Regions from separate parts of the Homo sapiens genome. Here region 1 is linked to region 2. The links are contacts of gene promoters, found by promoter capture Hi-C in blood cells and fetal thymus (Javierre and others, 2016). All regions are on one chromosome and are shown on one strand. Each heading gives the region's core, a stretch centred on a gene start or on the middle of the fragment in contact. The rest is flanking DNA. Distances are from core to core; before and after follow the strand shown.

The links. Contacts are between HindIII fragments. The CHiCAGO score rates a contact against its expected background, and 5 or more counts as called.
Region 1: a contact is called between a fragment that was not itself captured here and the fragment with the promoter of SLC45A4-AS1 in region 2, in 1 of 17 cell types (neutrophils). The highest score is 9.1, in neutrophils.

The regions. Positions count from the first base shown.
Region 1 is chr8:141,182,322-141,186,865 of GRCh38, forward strand. It overlaps DENND3 (DENN domain containing 3), which reads left to right. Exons shown (of 23, transcript NM_001352890.3): 18 at 2,818-2,957. Among named protein-coding and RNA genes, the nearest start is that of DENND3-AS1, 54 kb to the left of the region's middle. RefSeq lists enhancers at 241-350, 1,111-1,160, 1,241-1,380, 2,081-3,035. The HindIII fragment of the contact is 3,747 bases long and covers 1-3,124 here.
Region 2 is chr8:141,252,050-141,256,597 of GRCh38, forward strand. SLC45A4-AS1 (SLC45A4 antisense RNA 1) reads left to right here and starts at 2,518. Exons shown (of 2, transcript NR_161376.1): 1 at 2,518-2,722; 2 at 4,392-4,548. It overlaps SLC45A4 (solute carrier family 45 member 4), which reads right to left. Exons shown (of 9, transcript NM_001286646.2): 2 at 1,940-2,580. The coding sequence starts at 2,180. The HindIII fragment of the contact is 11,163 bases long and covers 1-4,548 here.

The DNA.
Region 1 (4,544 bases), core at 1-2,500, 71 kb before region 2:
CCAAGAAACCCAGGAACGCGATAGACCCTGGCTGAGTGAGCAGGCAGCGTCATCAGGGCCGCCCCGCGTGAGCCCTACCTGATGTGTCTAAGCCAGGCTCTGTGCTGACTTCGCCAGAGATGACTCCACAGACCAAGATACTTTGACCGTGGCATTTGAATACATGGTATTTTTAGGTCCCGGTTGGTTTCCCTGAAATGAAACTCACTCTGAGCTTCCTGTTGTGACGGGCGAGGAGTTCAGGCGGCTTCCCCTCCAGGAGCATCTCGAAGGCCTGCAGAGAGCGTGCAAAGCAGCCGTGGGGAATGGGGAAACCGCCTTTTCCTGTGGCTGCCGATTCTGGAAGGGGTGGCCGAGAAGCTGGTAGCCGAGCAGGGCTTTTGCAAGCCTTGTGAGATTGCAGGGACAAGAGGTGGGGTCAGGCCCCATCAAGAAGGGGGAGTCTTGTTATTCCCATTAGCTTGGGGCTGGGTCTCCGACAGGTTCCTAGGAGTTAGGAGAACCAGCCCTGAGGCCAGGCCACAGGTCAGCTCAGGCTCTGCCCATGGGGAGCGTGCCTCTCAGAGACGGCAGTGTCTCACCCATGGGAGCAACAGACCACTGGAATCGCACCCCAGAAAGACCGGGAGGCCTGCCCTTCTGGACTCAGGACGGAGGCAGCACTGCAGGGCGGGGGGTCGCTTGAATATCCTCAGGGGAAAGGTGAAACCTCGCCCCTTCACACTGCCCTGCGGTCAGGCCCAAGGGGGCCGAAACCTCAACGCGGTGGTAAAAGGCAAATGTGAACAATGAAAGCAAGCAGACTTCTAGGTGATAGGGTAGAAGAATATTTTCATGACTTTATGGTAAAGAAAAAAATGCATAAATTATATATAAAATACCATAAAGGAAAAGAATGTTGAATTTGACTATATTAAAAGCAATGACTTTATTATTTTTATTTTTTCTGAGACAGGGTCTGACTCTGTCACCCAGGTGCAGTGGCGCGATCACACCTCACTGCAACCTCTGCCTCCTGGGCTCTAGCGATCCTCCGCCCTCGGCCTCCTGATTAGCTGGACTGCAGGTGCACACCACTATGCCCAGCCAATTTTTGTATTTTTTTTTTTTTTTTTTGTAGAGATGGAGTTTTGCCGTATTGCTCAGGCTGGTCTTGAACTCCTGAGCTTGAGCAGTCTGCCGGTTTTGGACTCCAAAGCGCTGGGTTAGAGGCGTGAGCCACCACAACTGGCCAAAAGCAATGATTTTAAAAAGAAGACACTTTTTTTTTCCTCCTTTCAAATGAGCTGGTTTAATTCACGGTGACACAAAATTGAGGGTAGAAGACCAAAGAGCGCCCTCTGGCAGGCTCAGGTGGGAATGACGGGTGAGAAGCCACTGAAGACGTCCGGTGACACTGTCAGTTTTTTGTTTTGTTTTTTTTTTTTTTTAATTTAAAAAAAAAAAGAAAAGTTTATGCTTGAAAGTGCAACAGGCTCCAGGGCAACGCTCACTCTAGCTGAAGATGGCAAAAGCTGTCCTGGCGGGGGTGCAGGTGTTGAAACAGGAGTGGAGTCCAGGCCGCCACCGCCCAGGCAGAGGGAGCAGCGTGCTTTCCGCCAGGGGTCTTAGTTCCAGCTGTGGCTGGGCCTCCCTGCGGCCTGTGCTTTCGGCCCCTTGAGGTTCTGGTCTGTTTTGCTTTCTGCTGGAAGCCTCATCATCTCTGTCCCTCTCCTGGGCCTGCTTCTTGGGCTGTCTCAGAGGCTTCTTGCCATCTTCATGGCCGGACACGGCGCCTACAGCCTCTTCCCCAGACCCTGCCACAGGAAATGGACAGAAGACACTTTTGAGAGGGTGAAAATGTAAGCTGCAGACTGGGAAGGATCTTTAAAATGGGTGCTGCTAAAATCATTGCTTTTAATGTAGTCAGATTCACCAGTCTTTTGCTTTATGGTATTTTTATATGTCATACGTAATTTATGAATACAGCACCATGGAGTCAGTTAGGGGCTCATATCCAGAACACCGGAACAGCTGGCCGGGCGTGCCTGTGGTCCCAGTGAGGTGGGAGGGTGGCCAGAGCCCTGGACTCGGAGCCTGTGGTTTGCTGTGATCGCACCTGTGAACACTGCTGCACTCCAGCCCGGGCAACATGGCAAGACCTCGTCTATTAAAAAGTAAAAAAAAATAAAAATAAAAAAAAATAACAGCCACAAACTAGGGAGAACGAAAAACAGACACTTCCCACAAGAGGGCATGGGGATGGCCAGTTCAAGCCATCAGGCTCATTAGCAATTAGAGAAATGCAATTAAACCACAATTTAAAAGCCAAAAGCTCCACACCCTTAGAATGGCCGAAATTAAAAAGATGGACGGACGCCAGCAAGTGTTGGGAAAGACGCGGAGCCCGCTGCACATGAGGGTGTGGGGGGCACCATGGCCCCTGCCGCCGTCTCTCCAGCTGCCCTCCCTCCCTGCCTCCCTCCCTCTGTGTCCACCTGCTCCTCTTCCAGTTCCCTCTGCCTGGCTGTTTCCTCTAGTGAATGCTCACTCAGCTGGCAGGTCCTGGCTTAGCAAAGCTCACAGGCATTCGGCTCTGCATCTGCCTGCGGCTCTGACCCTGTCTTTGTGGCCCTCTCACCAGCCAGCTGCCCCCCTTGACTCTGAGCTCCCAGAGGGCAGGGAAGCCTCTGCCTGGGCACGTCTTTGTACGTACAGCACCTAACATGGGCCTGGCGCTTAGGAGGGCCCAGGAGGCACCTGAGTAAGGGCACCAGTCACCTGCTGCTACAGCAGAAGTGTTTCCTCCTAACAGTTTTGTGCTGCTCTCCTCTTTAGGGCATCTTGACCCAGCCGAAAAAGTTGAAGATGCTCACCCCAAGTTATGGTGTGCTCTGAGCGAAGGCAAGGTGACCGTGTTCAATGCTTCTTCATGGACCATCCACCAGCACTCCTTTAAAGTGGGCACTGCAAAAGTGGTGAGTACACGAAGCGTCAGGAAAGAAGCCTCTGAATTCACGTGATTTCTGAAACCCAAGTGTGTTCATCCATATTCGACAGTAGGATACAAGCTATTCCACAGCCTCACTCGGTTTCTGTAAACAGGGGGTCTTAACTTTCACCTGGAGTTTTCAAATTAAATGTAAGCTTGTTCCAAACTTCTACTTACACGTCCTTATTGAAGGAGAAGATAATGGCTTTGACTTTCTCATCTAAAAACAGATTTCAGGCCCCCATCTAAAAATAGATTGCAGGGGCTCACACCTCTAATCTCAGCACTTTGGGAGGCTGAGGTGGGTGGATTGCCTTGAGCCCAGGAGTTTGAGACCAGCCTGGGCAACAGAGTGAGACCCCATCTCTACAAAAACTACAAAAATTAGCCGGGCATGGTGGAGCGTGCCTGTAGTCCCAGTTACTTGGGAAGCTGAGGTGGTAGGATCGCTGAGCCTGGGAGGTCGAGGCTGCAGTGAGCCAAGATCGCGCCACTGCACTCCAGCCTGGGTGACAGAGCCATACCCTGTCTCAAACAGACAAATAATAATAATAATAAAATAATAAAAATCGACGTCAGTTCTGTGAAGTGGAGCCATTGTGGTCTCTGCCTGCTTATTACAGGCTTCACACACTTTGGGAACAATTTCCTTCTTTTTTTTCTTTTTTGAGACAGGGTCTTGCTCTGTTGCCCAGGCTGGAGTGCAGTGGTTCAGTCATGGCTCACTGCAGCCTCGACCTTCTGGGCTCAAGGGATCCACCTCGGTCTCCTGAGTAACTGGGACTACAGGTGCATGCTACCATGCCTGGCTAATTTTGTATTTTTTGTAGAGATGAGGTTTTGCCACGCTGCCCAGGCTGGGAACGATGTCTTCCATCCTGTACTGCAGCACTAAGGTTCCCAGGGACCAGGGCCTTAAAATGAACCTGCAGTGTTTCCTGGGAACCCTGGTGTTTCCTGGTGGCACAGTGGTTACTGGGTCTCTTTTGGAGCAAAAGAGGAGACAGCTGCCTCTGCAGTGACTTCAGTGTTATCCACCTGTCCCCACGTGCCAGGTGGCAGAGACCAGGGCCCAGCAAAACTCAGTGTCCACTCGTCACACATTATTCCTCTCACTTAGAGCAAGCTTGTCCAACCTGTGGCCTGCAGGCTGTACGTGGCCCAGGACGGCTTTGAATGAGGCCCAACACAAATTTGTAAACTTTCTTAAAACATATGTTGAGTTTTTTTTGCAATCTTTTTCCTTCTAGCTCATCAGCGATCGTTAATGTTAGTGTATTTTATGTGTGGCCCAAGACAATTCTTCTTCCACTGTGGCTCAGGGAAGCCACAAGAGTGCACACCCCTGATTTAAAGCAAGTTTGAATTGTTTCTGATAATTTTAAAACAAGTGCAACTGTTAATACATTTTTAGTAGTGTGTCCTTGGCAGTGCCATGGTGTGTCGCTTCTTCCATGACCATGGTATCTTGAGTGTGGAAGCTGGGATTCCTGCCCTGCTCATCCCTCCAGGCCCCCAGCGGCCCCTCCTGCCTGCAGACCATCATTTCTTGGGGATTTTCCCTGTTTGCCCG
Region 2 (4,548 bases), core at 1,268-3,767:
ATCCCTAAAACAACCAAAATAAGTAGGCTTGAAAATACTTTACCATGCAATATGTTGAATTCTAGAATAAAACGGATGCTTCTAAACTGTCTGCCTCTTACCAGATACCTTATATTGCTAAGGGTTTGGAAAATGACAGATTTTTTTAAAACTTCCTTAGGTCATAAAGAAAATAAACATTCTGACAAAATTTTTAGGGCCCAAGACACTCCCAGTGGGGACTCCCTACAGGGTCCCCGCTCTGCTGCCCGGTAATCTGGAAGAGACACCACATCTTGCCCATGCGAGCCTGGTCATGCCAACCTGTGCGTCTCTGTTAATTTCCGTGTTTTCACGCCCACCTGCGCGTCTGTGAATTTCCGTGTTTTCACGCCCACCTGCGTGTCTGTGAATTTCCATGTTTTCACGCCCACCTGTGCGTCTGTGAATTTCCGTGTTTTCACGCCCACCTGTGCGTCTGTGAATTTCCGTGTTTTCACGCCCACCTGTGCGTCTGTGAATTTCCGTGTTTTCACGCCCACCTGCGAGTGTCTGTGAATTTCCGTGTTTTCATGCCCACCTGTGCATCTGTGAATTTCCGTGTTTTCATGCCCACCTGCGTCTGTGAATTTCCGTTTTCACGCCCACCTGTGCGTCTGTGAATTTCCGTGTTTTCACGCCCACCTGCGTGTCTGTGAATTTCCGTGTTTTCATGCCCACCTGCGTCTGTGAATTTCCGTTTTCACGCCCACCTGTGCGTCTGTGAATTTCCGTGTTTTCACGCCCACCTGCGTGTCTGTGAATTTCCGTGTTTTCATGCCCACCTGCCCGTGTCTGTGAATTTCTGTTTTCATATCCACCTGTGTGTCTGTGAATTTTCGTGTTTTCATGCCCACCTGCGTGTCTGTGAATTTCCGTGTTTTCACGCCCACCTGTGCGTGTCCGCGAATTTCCGTGTTTTCACACCCACCTGTGCGTCTGTGAATTTCCGTGTTTTCACACCCACCTGTGTCTGTGAATTTCCGTGTTTTCACGCCCACCTGCGAGTGTCTGTGAATTTCCGTGTTTTCACGCCCACCTGCGAGTGTCTGTGAATTTCCGTGTTTTCACGCCCACCTGCAAGTCTATGAATTTCCGTGTTTTCATGCCCACCTGCGGGTCTGTGAATTTCCGTGTTTTCATGCCCACCTGCGTGTCTGTGAATTTCCGTGTTTTCATGCCCACCTGTGTGTCTGTGAATTTCCGTGTTTTCATGCCCACCTGCGTGTGTCTGTGAATTTCTGTGTTTTCATGCCCACCTGTGCGTCTGTGATTTTCCGTGTTTTCATGCCCACCTGTGCGTGCCTGTGAATTTCCATGCTTTTGGAAATGCCTGTCTCTGAGCCATCTACTGTCCACAATAACCTTGGATTCAAGTCAACAGCAACAATGATAAGATGACAGCATCTTCCAGTATCTCCCACAGCCAGGCACTGTTCTAAGCACACCTGGGACCCTCTTAGGGTTGGTTTGCGAATGCAATCACTTTACACACAAAGAATCAGAGTGTGGCACAGAAGGGCTCCCGAATTCGCCTGCATGACACAGCCAGTGACTGTCAGTGCTGGCGACCCTGCCCTTTGCCTCGTTGTTCACTGTGGCCTGGCAGGGACAGCGGGAGAGGTGAGCCCCGGCCGAGAGCCAGTACTTATCAGTGCCAATTCTGCCCCAGATGCTGAGCTACCACTTTGCCAAAACTGTAATTCAACGTCAACATCCGAAGATCACTCCTCCCCAAACCTGGCTGAAAACAGGAGACGAAAACCACCATCAGGGCAGGCTGAAGGGAGAGGAGACAAAGACTCCAGTGCCCGGGGCTCTCCAGGACGCACCATCCTCTGCCTCCAGAGGATCAGAGCCACGCCCAGTCCGCTAGCACTCCGCTCAGCGTTCACTGCGCACAGACGGGGAGGAGACTTACCAATCTGCAACAGTATTGGTGTGACCAGAGCGGTTTCCATGGCGTAACAGAACTCCCTGCCAAACATCACCGCCCCGTGCATCACCCACAGGCGCATGGGGATTCGGTCTATGGACCCCTCGCTGATGGTCTCGCAGTTCTCGGCCTCTGCGCCTCCGGCTTTCTGCGGGTCCGGCAGGGGCACGGATAACTCTTGAACTTGCATAGATTCCGGGTCGGCATTCTGCGGAGCCATTTTCATTACCACCAAAAATATATGTATTTATCTATATATTCTATCTATATAAATAATGCTTTCATATATCTGTAATGATAAATTAAGACGTCTTCTCTTTCTGCTTCTGCTGTGTTCCTCGGGCAGGTAACACTTACATTCCTCTTTGCACAAGTGGCTATCTCACAACTTCTCACAACGGTATGAGACATGCAGCAACACAGAACGATTTTTGGTTGGATTTTAAACATATGGCTTGCTGGTTTACTGTGAATTAGAGTTAAAAATCCATAATTGCCATTCAGTTAATACCAGTTTCATCATTATTACTGAAGAGGTGCTGAAGTGATTTTTCTTGCTACAGAGAGGTGGGAAGGTGATACAAACAGGTGGTCCGCTGGTAATCCCCATCGAGTGACTGGATGATCTGCAAAAGAGGAAAACAACCCGGCCAGAGAGTCAGGGGACGGCCACCAGATGGCCCTGTGGACCGCCGCCCGACCCCCGAGCAAGCCGTGTGCCCCGAGGGCCCGACCCAAGATCACACAGCTCTCTGCCACTCACTCTGGGTACGTCTGTGCAAATAACCAAACCTACTTTCTAGAAAAACATTTTCTCATACGAAAGTGAATCCTGGGGAAGGACAAAGGTGGGGCAATCAAGGAAAGCAGGATCAAAGAACAGACAGAGAAAAACGCTGGAAATATTCACTCTTTGGCCAGTAACAATATCGTCCACCCTGTGTACCACAGCACGTAACTATTCCAGCAGGCTGGAGGCAGCTGGCGACACCCTTTGTGGCTGCAGATATCATGAAAGGGAAGTAAGGAGGTGAAGGGAAAAGTGGGGGAGGTAGGCAAAAGAGAATCAAAAGGGAAAACTTTTGTTTAAAAAAGTTTAATTTGTTAGTGACAAGGTCTCGCTCCGTTGCCCAGGCTGGAGTGCGGTCACACGACCATGGCTCTCTGCAGCCTCAAACTCCTGGAATCAAGTGATCTCCCACCTCATCCTCCCGAGTAGCTGCGACTACAGGCATGCACCACTACACCCAGCTAATTTTTCTAGGGTCCCCATTACATTGACCTGGCTGGTATCCAACTCCTGGGCTCAAGCGATCTACCCTGCCTCGGCCTCCCAAAGCACTAGGATTTACAAGTGTGAGCCACCGTGCCCAGCCAAAAAGGGAAACTGTAGACCCTGCCTGGAGAGGTGGAAATTAAAAATAAAAAGCAGCTGGGCACGGTGGCTTAAGTCTGTAATCCCAGCACATTGGGGGGCTGAAGCAGGTGGATCACCTGAGATTAGGAGTTCAAGACCTGCTTGGGCAACATGGCGAAAGCCCATCTCTACTAAAAATACAAAAATTAGCCAGGCATGGTGGCGGGCGCCTGTAATACCAGCTACTCAGGAGGGTGAGGCAGGAGAATCACTTGAACCCGGGAGGTGGAAGTTGCAGTAAGCTGAGATCGCACCACTGCACTCCAGCCTGGGCAACAGAGTGAGACCCTGTCTCAAAAAACAAAAACAAAAACAAACAAACAAAAAAAACAAAAAGAAAAGAAAAATGAAAAGTAGGAGGCTGGGTGGAATGAGCATAGCATGATTCTCTGTCCGGGGGGAGTTCGAAGTCTACCCAAAGGCACCTGGACTCCTGTGGTATTGGCCTTTAGGTTATAAAACCTCTTGGGAATAAAATGAAATTATAGACCTTTTCTCCAGAAAAAAATGTACGCATGTGCCAAACTCTGACTATAGTACCTAGGGGTTCGGAGACTCCCAACCCACACGCAGCTTTCCCAGGGTCTACGGAACCCTATCACCCCAACCCTCGGCTTTCCACCACCCTGCCTCCAGTGACAAACCCAGCTTGGTGACAAATTCCCCACCTGGGCAAACACATACAATAAAGCAGCAATAAGCTAACTGGAAATGCCACCTTGGAAATGTTTTAGGAAATGAGGTCAATCTCTCCTCAGGTAAGATAAGATCGGGGATGTGGAACACCCCAAGTTCAGGACTTCTGGAGTTAGGTCTCCAGACATGGGGTTCGGTTCAACTGAAGTGTTAGAGCCCCTAAAAACACACCTAAATGGTGTTCACAGTTTATATTAAGGTAGGTCTATGGGCCAATACCTTACTGAGAATTTTTCCAACAACTGGTTTCAACAAAAATATTTCTCATTACTTTCCACCGAACCAAAGGTGGTCTTAATTAGCTCCTCCTCTCTTTCTCCCCAGAGGAGACCAGAAACCTCGAGGTGCTGTCTTCACTCGGCTCCTCTCTCACACAGCCCTGATGGAGAAGGTGGGTCCCTGGCACGTGGGCCCCAGGAGGGAGAAGACTCCGCTGTACAGGAGGTTCTGGAAGGAAGCCGTGCGCCTGGCTCTTACGTCC